Linked DNA regions of Homo sapiens: region 2 is linked to region 1. The links are contacts of gene promoters, found by promoter capture Hi-C in human tissues and cell types (Jung and others, 2019). All regions are on one chromosome and are shown on one strand. Each heading gives the region's core, a stretch centred on a gene start or on the middle of the fragment in contact. The rest is flanking DNA. Distances are from core to core; before and after follow the strand shown.

The links. The method cuts DNA at HindIII sites, captures the fragments that hold promoters and counts their contacts. A contact is called where the count stands out against the background at its distance.
Region 2: a fragment that was not itself captured here is called in contact with the fragment with the promoter of LMTK2 in region 1 in 2 of the 25 tissues and cell types used here (H1 embryonic stem cells and thymus).

Annotation. Positions count from the first base shown.
Region 1 is chr7:98,105,266-98,111,632 of GRCh38, forward strand. LMTK2 (lemur tyrosine kinase 2) reads left to right here and starts at 1,597. Exons shown (of 14, transcript NM_014916.4): 1 at 1,597-2,015. The coding sequence starts at 1,913. The HindIII fragment of the contact is 4,738 bases long and covers 238-4,975 here.
Region 2 is chr7:98,044,168-98,050,266 of GRCh38, forward strand. No RefSeq gene overlaps it. Among named protein-coding and RNA genes, the nearest start is that of OCM2, 57 kb to the left of the region's middle. RefSeq lists enhancers at 4,137-4,637, 4,638-5,138. The HindIII fragment of the contact is 8,139 bases long and covers 536-6,099 here.

The DNA.
Region 1 (6,367 bases), core at 347-2,846:
GATCGCACCACTGCATTCTAGCCTGGTGACAGAGACAGACTCTGTCTCAAAGAAAAAAAAAAAAGAAGTAGAAGTACAACAGGGTGATTGTGTCTCTTTCCTAGACCTTTGCCTTCCTTACCAATTCTGCATATAATCAGCAGAAAGCCGTGAACTTTTTTTTTTTTAAGACAGAGTCTCGCTGTGTCGCCCAGGCTGGAGTGCAGCGGTGTGATCTCAGCTCACCGCAACCTCCGCCTCCTGGGTTCGAGCAATTTTCCTGCCTCAGCCTCCCAAGCAGCTGGGATTACAGGCATGCGTCACCGTGTCTGGCTAATACTTTTTGTATTTTTAGTAGAGATGGGGTATGACCATGTTGGCCAGGCTGGTCTTGAACTCCTGGTCTGAAGTGATTCACCCACCTTGGCCTCCCAAAGTGCTGAGATTACAGGTGTGAGCCACCGTGCCCAGCCAAGCCATGGACTTTTAAATTCAATGTTTCTCGTTCCAGGTATTTGTCTCCTTAGATATTTATTGGCTTGCCTCAATCATCCAACAAATATTCCCTGGGCATCATCTGTGTGTCCAGTGCTGTGTTAACATCATCGACAGCTGGCATTTAGGATGGACATTTGGGGAGTTTGGAGAATTGGGGAGGTTACACTGTTGCCAGGTGGCAAAGTCTCATCTGATAAGATTGAAATCAGCTCCTCTCATGCACACACTGAACCATAGCGCCTCTCCAGAAAAGCTTAGCATTTTCCCAACCCCCATGCCTCTGACCACTATATTACTTGTGTCTGGAGAGTGCTTTCTCTATCCTCTCTGCAGGACTGTGTTCTCACCTCACCTCTTGGTGGGGAGAAGGCCACCCCTGGGAGCTGCTCTGCCCTGGTACCTGGGACCAGGGCCATGCACCATTGCTTTAGAGAACACCTGCTCCGACCCAGGTCCTGCACCAGGGATTTCCCACCAGCTGAATCAGACACAGTTGCTGTCCTCAGGGAGCTTACAGTCACGGGTCAATAGGATACTGCAGCTAGGATAGCAGTCCACACAGGGCCAGGGCGGGGCACTAAGGAGATGACAGTCATTTCTCCTAGAGAGTCATAGATGAAGTCATATGTCAGGTGAGTCTCGACAGATGAAAGGAAGAGTGTCTGCCAGGTGGACAAGAGGCAACAGCTTGAGCTCAGGAGGTGAGTCAGTGGGTGATGCCGAGAGAGGCATTCTCTTGATCAATTCAAGTGAAAAGCCCAAAGCTGTTTGATGGCTGAGAGGATGTGTAGGTCAACTTAAGGAGAAGAGCCTAAAACAGCTCTGACAAGTAAAAAAAAAAAAAAGGCAGAAGACAAGACAGGCCTATTTTTGCATGTTATAAAACACCGAGAAAAAAATATCAGGATGATTGTCATGGTCTTCTTTACATTTTCCTGTATTTTTCAATTTAAAATAATTGTTGGTGTTACCTGCTGCCCACGCACTCCTCCGTCTGCAGGGGGCGCACCGGCCGCCACCGCTCACTCCTTCAGGATGATGGGCGGGGCCTCCTGGGCCGGTGTGGACTGACGAGTGGCTGGCCGCCCTGTCCATCACGACATCCCGCCCCCGCGCTACGTCACATGACGCAGCCCATCATGGCGGCGGGAGCGCGGCTTCCCAGGCCCGCCGCTCCGCAGGGCTGCTGGCGTTGCTGCTGTTGAGAGGCGGCGGCGGCGGCGCAGGCGGGCGGGAAGGATGGTGTTTCTGCGACTGGAGCGGCAGGTGCGGACCGGGAGCCGGACCGAGGTTTGGCAGAAGCAACGTGTGCTCGGGAGCAACCGGCGCGGGTGCCACTGAGGCAGCGGAGGGAGGCAGGATCGACTGACGGGCGAACGGACGGACGGACGGAAGGCGACTCGAGGGCCGGCCCCGGAGCCGCGCCGTGGGCGAGATGCCGGGGCCGCCGGCGTTGCGGCGGAGGCTGCTGCTGCTGCTGCTGGTCCTCCTGATCGCCGGCAGTGCTGGGGCCGCGCCACTTCCGCAAACAGGTGCAGGTGAGCGGGCCCGCGGCGGGGACGGGGCTGCGGGGTCTTCGGCGTGGAGGGGAGGGGGCGGCAGGGCCGGGCCGGCCTCGGCGCCGAGGAATCGGAGGGCCTGCCGGGGGCGGGAAGCCCAGGGAGGCGAGTGATTAGGGAGATTTCTGCCGCAGGGGCGTGGGATTTGGGGGGGCGGGAGCGAGGCGACGTCGTTGGGGCTGGGGAGGGCGGCGGGCGAGGTAGCAGCCACCGACCCCTCCCGGGATAGGCTGCGGTGCCGGCCCTGGACCTGTTGCCTTAAGATCCTCAGCTTATATCGCTTCCTGGCAGTTCAGCTTCCCTTTCCAGATGTCACCTGCCTCTTGTGCTTTTTTTTCGCATCTCATAAGAACCGTTTCTTAGCCCTAATCATACTTAAATGCAAATGACTTGGCGAGCTGTGCGGAGTTTGTTTTCGCTCCTTGCAACTTATTCTGAAGTTGTAAATTGATTTTAGACGCTGTGCTTTTTATTCGGAATGTATCTCCGGGGATGAGAAGGAAACAACTATAAATATTTCTATTTTAGGAAGCCAGTGATTAGAGTAGCAGGCGTTGAATAACTATTGACAAACTGGCTTAAGGGTGATGGAAGTTTCTATTTTAGCTAACGTCAGTGTATGATTTTCTTTTCTCCCCCCCCGCCCATTTTCTCAACATCGTTTTTATTTGGGGTTTATTTTCCTAAATAAAACTTCAACCCAAGAAAACATCCCAAGTTGGGTCATTTTTCTAAAAAGGAAAAAAAAATCTAGGCTAACTTGGCGTTATTGACTGCCGCCATTACCTTTGAAATGGGGAAAGATTGAAATTTCATACATTCATAGAATGTTAGAGTTAGAAGAGACCTTAAAGAAAATTTAGACCAATTTCTTCTTTACGTAGTAGGAGATACTGGGCATGTTGGGTCAAATGACCTACCCAGGGTGACACAGCTTCGTTGTAGGCAGAGCCCCAAAGCCAGGTCTTAGATACCCCTAGTTGTATGATTTTTTTTAAGTCTTGTAACTGTTTTGGAATACTCTCGAGGTCAAGAGTTATTTTGGAATAATGTTAATTGGGTACAGAATGTGGATGTACTGTCTCCAGTAAAGACATATTTTTCAAACAAATCTACGATGAAAGCTACATGTAATTGCTTCCAGAGCTACATCAGGGTTTGTCATTGAGTGCCCTTTAGTTGAACGTTAAATGTCCTCATTGTACCGTATAATGTAGCACTAAATTTCTGTTACTGCCTTAGATCAAATACTTGTGAGGTGAATTCTGTTTTCTGATCCGATAGATAAGAAGAGTAAATGTTATCAGATGTGTATAGGCAACCCCGGAAAGAGTCACAGGAAATGCCTGGGAAATAATGAAAGATTATGTGGAAGGATGGTGATGTTGATATTTAAAGATATTGATATTGAAAGTTAGCACTAGTATAGTGTAGTAGGTAAAGAGTATTTATATGATGGGGATTCAAGAAATTTCCAGATGACTTTACACTTAATTGGATTTTTATATATTTTGAAGTATCGATTCTTTATAGGAACCTATGTCTGCCTGCACACTTTTTTTTTTTTTTTTTTTTTGAGACGGAGTCTTGCTCTGTCACCCAGGCTGGAGTGCATCATCGGTGCGATATCAGCTGACTGCAACCCCCCCCTTCCGAGTTCAAGCAGTTCTCTGCCTCAGCCTCCTGTGTAGCTGGGACTACAGGCCCCTGCCACCATGTCCGGCTAATTTTTGTATTTTTAGTAGAGACGGGTTTCATCATCTTGGCCAGGCCGGTCTTGAACTCCTGACCTCGTGATTCACCCGCCTCAGCCTCCCAAAGTGCTGGGATTACAGGCGTGAGCCACCGCGCCTGGCCACCTGTACACTTCTTACACGGTTTTTATTCCATTCTTTTACAATTTTATGGTGTCATGAATTATAAAATGAATTTTGTTGGGGTGTTGTAGAACAAAGCAATCAGAAAAGTTAATCTGTAAATAGAGATATCAAATCTTGACATACATATAGCATAAGGAAATATTTGGTAATTTGTAGCAACTTTTGCTACAAATTTTCCTTTCATATTCTGATCTTTGTAGGATAGGTGTATATGTTTTGACGTGTTGCATATGAATAATGGGTACCTAGGGTTAAAGTCTGTGGAAAAGACGCACAGTCAGGCCGGGAGCAGTGGATCACACCTGTAATCCCAGCACTTTGGGAGGCCCAGGTGGGTGGATTGCTTGAGGTCAGGAGTTCGAGACCAGCCTGACCAACATGGTGAAATTCCCTCTCTACTAAATATACAAAAATTAGCCGTGCGTGGTGGTGGGAGCCTGTAATCCCAACTATTTGGGAGGCTGAGGCAGGAAAATTGCTTGCACCCAGGGAGCGGAGCTTACAGTGAGCCGAGATTGTGCCACTGCATCATAGCCTGGGCAACAGAGTGAGACTCCGTCTCAAAAAAAAAAAAAAAAAAAAGAAAGGAAGATGCACAATCAGACATAGATATTCAGGGGCTTGTCTCTCCATCCAAAAGAGTTTATTGATCCTCGTTAGCTGAGGTGGGTTCTTGACCAAGATATATTAGACCAAGTTTAAAAAAAAACCTTTAAGCTAATCCTGACTAGTGAGCTCGCTGGTTAAAAAAGAGGAATCCCGCTTGACCATGTATGGTAGATAAAAGAGCAGTTACACGCCAAAAACCTAACTAAAGCTTCTGGTAATCTAGGAGCCTGCACTCCTTGTGAAGATAGAGCTAGACACTTTCAAATAAGGATAGACCCATTTCATAGGGTCTTTCGCCTCCTTGTTCTTCTTTCTGCTTGAAGCCTGATCAGTCTATCCAGTTTAATGGTGCCTTAGAGAAAGCATGCAGTTAACTGAAATTCAGCTTTTAAACTGAAGATCATTTATCTATGGTGTCTTCATCATCTAGATTCATTGCTAGACTCAGAAGCTGAAAAAGATATTTTCTTATTCAGTCATAATAAAGCTATGTAAATATATAGATTGCACTTGCCCATCAGGCAAGAAGGCATTTCTTGGTTGAACTTTATTTTGGGCCTCTTCTTTGAGCTGGGATGCCGTTTTGCCCCCTACGCCCGCCCCGTCTAGGAGCCTCTTTTCCTGAGAATCTGTGTTTCTGTAAGGGCCCTTGTTGTTATGTAGACTAAGACTTGTTGGTCCTCTCTAGGAAGCTTTTATGTAAAGGGAGAAAGTTCACTGTTTTCACACCCAGTTAAATTGCCAAACTAAGATTACAGTTCAGTTCTTTTCCCCAGATCATAGTTATCAGATCATTCTTCTCTTAGAAAACATGGATGCGCCTTTTCTAAGATTCTCAGGATTCACATCATAAACGGGGACTAGAAATAAAGAAAGATCTTGTATATGTGAACGAATTTCTCTAAGCTCACACTTTCTTATTAATATTAGGATAGTGGTGAGACAAGGAAACCCAGTTCTATTGTTCTGCAGCATATTAGGTCACAGAGTACAGAGGAAGCTTTTAGCAGCTCCAGATAAAGGACCTCACGGAAGCCCGTGAAGCCAGTGGGACTCAGCTACTGATTAAACAGCAGCTTGTGAAACCGAGCCTCTCGTTTTAGATTAAACAAACAGACTTGTATTTTGAAAAAGATTTCTAAAGTAAAGGAAATGCTTTCTAAAGTATGAATTACTGTGTTTAACAGCCTCTGGGAAAATTATTTTCAACAGGCTTTCTATGCAAATTATTTTAGGATTTATAGCTATAAATCTTGAAATTTGATTTTGGTTGGGATTGCTGCAATTACTTTTACTTGGTGATATTTTGGGGTTAACTAAATATGCTCATTTGAACAGTAATAGGAAGTCCGTCTGCAGTTTTGTAGCTGATTAGCACTGAAGTTATCAAATCCTTACAGTTTTGCTGATAATCAGTGTGCTGAGTGTTCCTGCAAATTCTCTTAAAAATTTAGAGTCCTTGGGCCCTCTCTGGCCCCTGTGTATTGTGTCACTTAGATAACAGCTGTAGATATAATTTTAAAAAGACACTGTCATATAAATAAGGGACGTCCAGGGTTCTGAAACAGTAAACAAATGAGTCCTCAAAAAAGTTCTTGTAAATGGACATATAGAAATAATCCAACTTTTTCGTTTAGTTGAGAGTAAAATTCATGAACCAATCCTAGCTGGAACAGAGTGTTGTAGGAAGAGCTTGGGCTTTGTAGTGAGATCTGGGTGTGAAGCCTTGGCTGCCGCTGGAATAGCTTAAGGACCCTGGGTCAGTTACTCGACCTCTGGGCTTAGAACTCCATCATTAAAAAGGGTGGCAATGACAATATTTACCCAAAGGGTTGTGGGGGG
Region 2 (6,099 bases), core at 3,355-5,854, 58 kb before region 1:
GCTGGGATTACACCTGTAATCCCAGCACTTTGGGAGGCCGAAGTGGGAGAATTGCTTGAGTCTAGGAGTTTGAAACCAGCCTGGGCAACATGGTGAAATCCCGTTACTAAAAAAAAACCCACAACAATTAGCCGGGTGTGGTGGCATGTGCCTGTGGTCCCAGTCACTTGGGAGGCTGGGGTGGGAGAACCACTGTAGCCTGGGACTTGGAGGCTACAGTGAGCCATGACTGCACCACTGCACTCCAGCCTGGGCAACTGAGCAAGACCCTGTCTCTCCCCACCCCCCAAAACACACACACACACACACACACACACACACACACACACACACGACTACAAAGACTGCAGCAATACAGAAAAAATGTTGACATAATTTTCTTTTTTTCCTTTTTTTTTCGAGCTGGAGACTTGCTCTGTTGCCAGGCTGGAGTGCAGTGGTGCGATCTTGGCTCACTGCAACCTCCGCCTCCTGGGTTCAAGCGATTCTTCTCCCTCAGCCTCCTGAGTAGCTGGGACTTCAGACATGTACCACCATGCCCAGCACATTTTTGTATTTTTAGTAGAGATGGGGTTTCACCTTGTTGGCCAGGATGGTCTCGATCGCCTGACCTCGTGATCTGCCCGCCTTGGCCTCCCAAAGTGCTAGGATTACAGGCGTGAGCCACTGCACCCGGCCAATGTCCACATAATTTTAAGCAAAACGAGCAGAATCCAAAATCGTATCCATGCTGACTAGAACTGTGTGAAAATACACCTACAGGTGAACGGAGACTGGACAGAAGGTAGAAAAGTGTAGAGATTGGTATGAATGGTTTTTCTTGGTTTTGTCCTTGGTATTTGGTGGATCGATGGGTATAGATTGGGAAAGGGAATGAGTAAGAAGCCTCACAATGAGAGAGACAGGCGTGCACCTCTTGCGTCTGCACTGAAGGGTGATGTGGTTAGGGAAGATACGCCTGTCCTTCCTGCAGCACTCTGCACACAAGGGCAGCTGGGCAGTTTGCAGGCGGTCATCTCGAGGTGCTCACAGGACGACAGATGCTCAGGGCTGCCGTCTGGACCTGCGTGTCCCAGCGTGAGATGCGTCCCACCTGATTTTAACAGAAGCAAGTTTTTTTGTTCTTGCTGTTGTTCAGTGATTTTGGACATCTAGCTCCCAGAGCTGTCAGAGCAAAGAGAATGCCTGTTGTTTGAAGCCACCCAGTTTGTGGCTTTTTTTTTTTTTTTTTTTGGAGATGGAGTCTTGCTCTGTTTCACAGGCTGTAGTGGTGCAATCTCGGCTCACTGCAATCTCCACCTCCCAGGTTCAAGTGATTCTTCTGCCTCAGCCTCCCAAGTAGCTGAGATTACAGGCATGCACCACCATACCCAGGTAATTTTTGTATTTTTAGTAGAGACAGGATTTTGCCATGTTAGCCAGGTTGGTCTCGAACTCCTGACCTCAGGTGACCTGCCCGCCTCAGCCTCCCAAAGTGCTGGGATTACAGGTGTGAGCCACCACACCCAGCCGGCACCTTGTTATAGTAGCTGCAGTGTTACATGCTGAACTGTGTACCCTCCACATTCCTACATTGAAGTCTTATTTATTTATTTATTTATTTATTTATTTATTTATTTATTTCAAGATAGAGTCTCACTCTGTCACCCAGGCTGGAGTTCAGTGGCACCATCTCGGCTCACTGCAACCCCCCGCCTCTTGGGTTCAAGCTATTCTCCTGCATCAGCCTCTAGAGTAGTTGGGATTACGGGCATGCACCACCATGCCTGGCTAATTTTTGTATTTTTCGTAGAGATGGGGTTTGTCCATGTTGCCCAGGCTGATCTCGAACTCCTGGCCTCAAGCGATGCGCCTGGCTCGACCTCTCAAAGTGATGGGATCACAGGTGTGAGCCACTGTGCCTGGCCTATATGTTGAAGTCCCAACCTCCAGGACGTCAGAATGGGAGTGTGCTTGGAAACAGGGCCTTTAAAAGGATAATTAAGTTAAAATGAGGTCATTAGGGTGGGCCCTGATCCCTTCTGACTGGTGTCCTTATAAGAAGAGGAATGAGGGGCCAGGCACGGTGGCTCATGCCTGTAATCCCAGCACTTTGGGAGGCTGAGGTGGGCAGATTATGAGATCAGGAGTTCGAGACCAGCCTGGCCAACATAGTGAAACCCCATCTCTACTAAAAATACAAAAAATTAGCTGGGTGTAGTGATGCGTGCCTGTAATCCCAGCTACTTGGGAGGCCAAGGCAGGAGAATCACTTGAACCCGTGAGGTGGAGGTTGCAGTGAGCCGAGATCGCATCACTGCACTCCAGCCCAGGTGACAGTGTGAGACTCCATTTCAAAAAAAAAAAAGAAGAGGAGGACTGAGGGACACACAGGGGCACACCATGATGTTTGCGTGCAGAGGCAATGTCATTTGAAGACACAGTGACAAGATGACCATCTGTAAGCCAGGGAGACAGGCCTCGGGAGAAACTGAGCCTGTCTACACCTTGCTCTTGGACTTCCAGCCTCCAGAGCTGTGAGAAAGTCCATTTCTTTTGTTTAAGCCACCCAGTCTGTGGTATTGAGTGATGGCAGCCCTCTAATACACAGGAGAAAACCAATACAGGAAGAACCTTTTGTTACTAGTGACAGAAAACATTATCAAATTTCCACAGAAAGAAAATGTATTGCAGAAAGAGAAACTATAGTGACTCACATTTCAAACGTACATGTATTTATTTTAAAAATAAACTGTCTATCACTACCATAAATAGAATCCCGGAACCATATCCGTGAAAGCCTGTGAACACACAGCAGTCATTTTGGCTTCAGGTAGGGCTTGGTGAAACATACACGCAACTTTACCACCATCCACGTCTCAGCTCTGCATCCCAGGATTCTGGCCAAAAAAAAAAAATGCTTTTTTTTTTTTTTGTGATCACAGACAAATGCAGCAAGCAGTTCACAAAGCTATACTCTCCTGGGTCTTCAGCCAGCAAGAAGGAGAGTGCCCTTGACCGCCAAACAAATCCAAGGCTTTGCCCCAGTTGGACCCTCTGAGGTCACAGGCTGTCTCTGAACCAATCATTGTTGCCAGAAAACGTGATGTCCCAGTGAGCTTAGTCCTTGACCACATGTTCCTCTCCTGGTATGGAGGGGTCATGAGAGTGAGAAGGAGGAGGGTGCTTTCCTCAAACACATTGGACTGATACCTTTGGGTAAATATCTTCAGAAAAGTTGGGGTATTTGTTTTTTAAAAAATTTATATAAAGAGCCAGGCACGGTGGCTCACACCTGTAATCCCAGCACTTTGGGAGGCTGAGGTGGGTGGATCACCTGAGGTCAGGAGTTTGAGACCAGCCTGACCAACATGGAGAAAGCCCATCTCTACTAAAAATACAAAACTAGCCAGGCGTGGTGGCGCATGCCTGCAATCCCAGCTACTTGGGAGGCTGAGGCAGGAGAATCGCTTGAACCTGGGAGGCAGAGGTTGTGGTGAGTCGAGATCGTGCCATTGCTCTCCAGCCTGGGCAACAAGAGCGAAACTCTGTCTCAAAAAAAAAAAAATTTATATACACACATATTATATATATTAGACATATATGTTTTATATATCTTATATATGTTATATATAAGGCATATTATATATGTTATATATAAGGCATATTATATATGTATATATTTATATACACACATATATAAATAGACATACACATATGTATATATAATATGTCATATATATAAATATATATGTGTATATACATAGTATGTCATATATATATTAGACAGGGTCATGCTGTGTTACCTGGGCTCTGGAGTGCAGTGGTGTGAACATAGTTTTTAAATTTTTTGCAGAGATGGGGTCTTGCTATGCTGTCCAAGCTGGTCTTGAATTCCTGGCCTCCAGCAGTCCTCCCACTTCAGCCTCCCAGAGTGCTGGGATTACAGGCATGAATCACTGCACCCAGCCAGGATAGTGTTAAGAAGAAGAAATAGATATGAGGTGGTCAGTTGCCAACTGCTATTGCAACTGCCCCAAATTTCATGCCCATAGTAATCCAACGAAGTAGGCATTGTTAGTGTCCCTGTTTTCTTTTTGAGACAGGGTCTCGCTTTGTCACCCAGGCTGGAGTGCAATCTTGGCTCACTGCAGCCTCTGCCTCCCATATTCAAGCGATTCTCCTGCCTCAGCCTTCTGAGTAGCTGGGATTACAGCTGCGTGCCACCACACCCGGCTAATTTTTGTATTATTAGTAGAGATGGGGTTTCATCATGTTGGCCAGGCTGGTCTTGAACTCCTGGCCTCAAGTGATCTGCCCACCTCAGCTTCCCAAAGTGCTGGGATTACAGGTGTGAGCCACTGCACCTGGCTAATTTTTGTATTATTAGTAGAGACGGAGTTTTGCCATGTTGGCCAGGCTGCTCTTGAACTCCTGAACTCAAGTATCTGCCCGCCTTGGCCTCCCAAAGTGCTGGGATGACAGGTGTGAGCCACCATGCCCGGCCAAGTGCCCCTGTTTTCTATAGGAGAAAGCTAAGCCTTTGGAGGAAGAAACGAGTTGTCTGAGCTGGCAGGTGGGAGAGTTTGGACGCAAACTTGAGTCTCTAAGTCTGTCCCCAAAGTCTCTCTCTTTTCCCCCACGTTCACTCTCTTCCCCTCTAACTTCTGACAAAGAACCTGTGCCTGATTCTTGTCCGACTTGTTATCTACTTGAAATTGGCCACCGTGAGAGTATTTACACTGTGGAAATTAGCAACTGCTACAGATCAGGACTTTTTCCCCCAAAGAGTCAGTGAGCCTCAAGACACAACAGCTCTCATTGCGACTCCAATGGGGTTCACCACTTTGGGGGAACCCATCTCAAATCTCACAAGTGGATCCTTGATGCTTTAATTTGGTCTGAAGAGATTTCAGTGTAGTGTGAGATGGAGAGGCTTAGAAAAGCCCCCTGGCTGCGGCAGAGTTAGTGTGAAAACAGCAGCCACTTCCTGAGACGGTGGAAATTAACATCCGCGAGAAAGATTTTGGCATCTCATAGCAGCTGAGCCCTCTGGCAACCTGCATTCCTGGCCAGTTACTCACTCCTGAGCCTAAGCAGGTGTTGACTGGGCTCTGCCCCTCCTAGTGTGGCTAGGACTGCCCTGGCCTGCCTGTTCCCTTCCTTGGCAGATCACCTATTTGCTAAGTTACCCTGGGATTTCTCCATCGGTGTCCTGCACTCGCAAGACGGGGAATAGGCAGGATGGGATGGGGCGCTGAGCCGCAGCCTAGATTTGGTCAGGAGCTGAGGATCAAACCTATTCCTGGGGCCGGGCGCAGTGGCTCACACCTGTAATCCCAGCACTTTGGGAGGCTGAGGCGGGCAGATCACTTGAGGTCAGGAGTTCAAGACCAGCCTGGCCAACATGGCAAAACCCTGTCTCTACTAAAAATACAACCCACAATTGTCTGGGTCCTTGCCTGGCCTGTTTGTTTGTTTTTAATTAAAGATGGGATCTTGCTATGTTGCCCAGGCTGGTCTTGAACTCCTGAGTTCAAGAGATGCTCCTGCCTCAGCCTCCCAAAGTGCTGGGATTACAGACATGAGCTACTGCACCCAGCCTAGTATTTTGAACAGCACATTTTTCCTGCTTTTTGAACAAGAGGCCTGCATTTACATTTTGCACTGGACTCCACAAATTATGGAACCGGCCCTGTAGCAGAGTCCTCACCCCCAAAGACCCAGAAGACTTGGAAATGGAAAAGAAGCCCAATATTTTCCCATGTGATAAAAGGGCCAGGCATGTTTTTTTGGAGGCCAATTTTACCAGCCAGTCCTCTCCAGTCCAGACTATTCCCCTGAGATCACTGGTTTATCTTCCCCTCATCCTAACTGGTGGGCCTAACCCATTTTTACCCTGATTTTCCAAAATGACCCAGGGTTAAGAGAAGGAAACACAAGCCAAAGACTCTGAGAAAATATTTGCAAAACATATATCAGATAGAGGATTTGTATTCCAAATATACAAAGAACTGTTAAAACTCAATCATAACAAAATGGTGTCTGGGTGTGGTGGCTCACACCTGTAATCCCAGCACTTTGGGAGGCTGAGACAGGTAGATCACCTGAGGTTAGGAG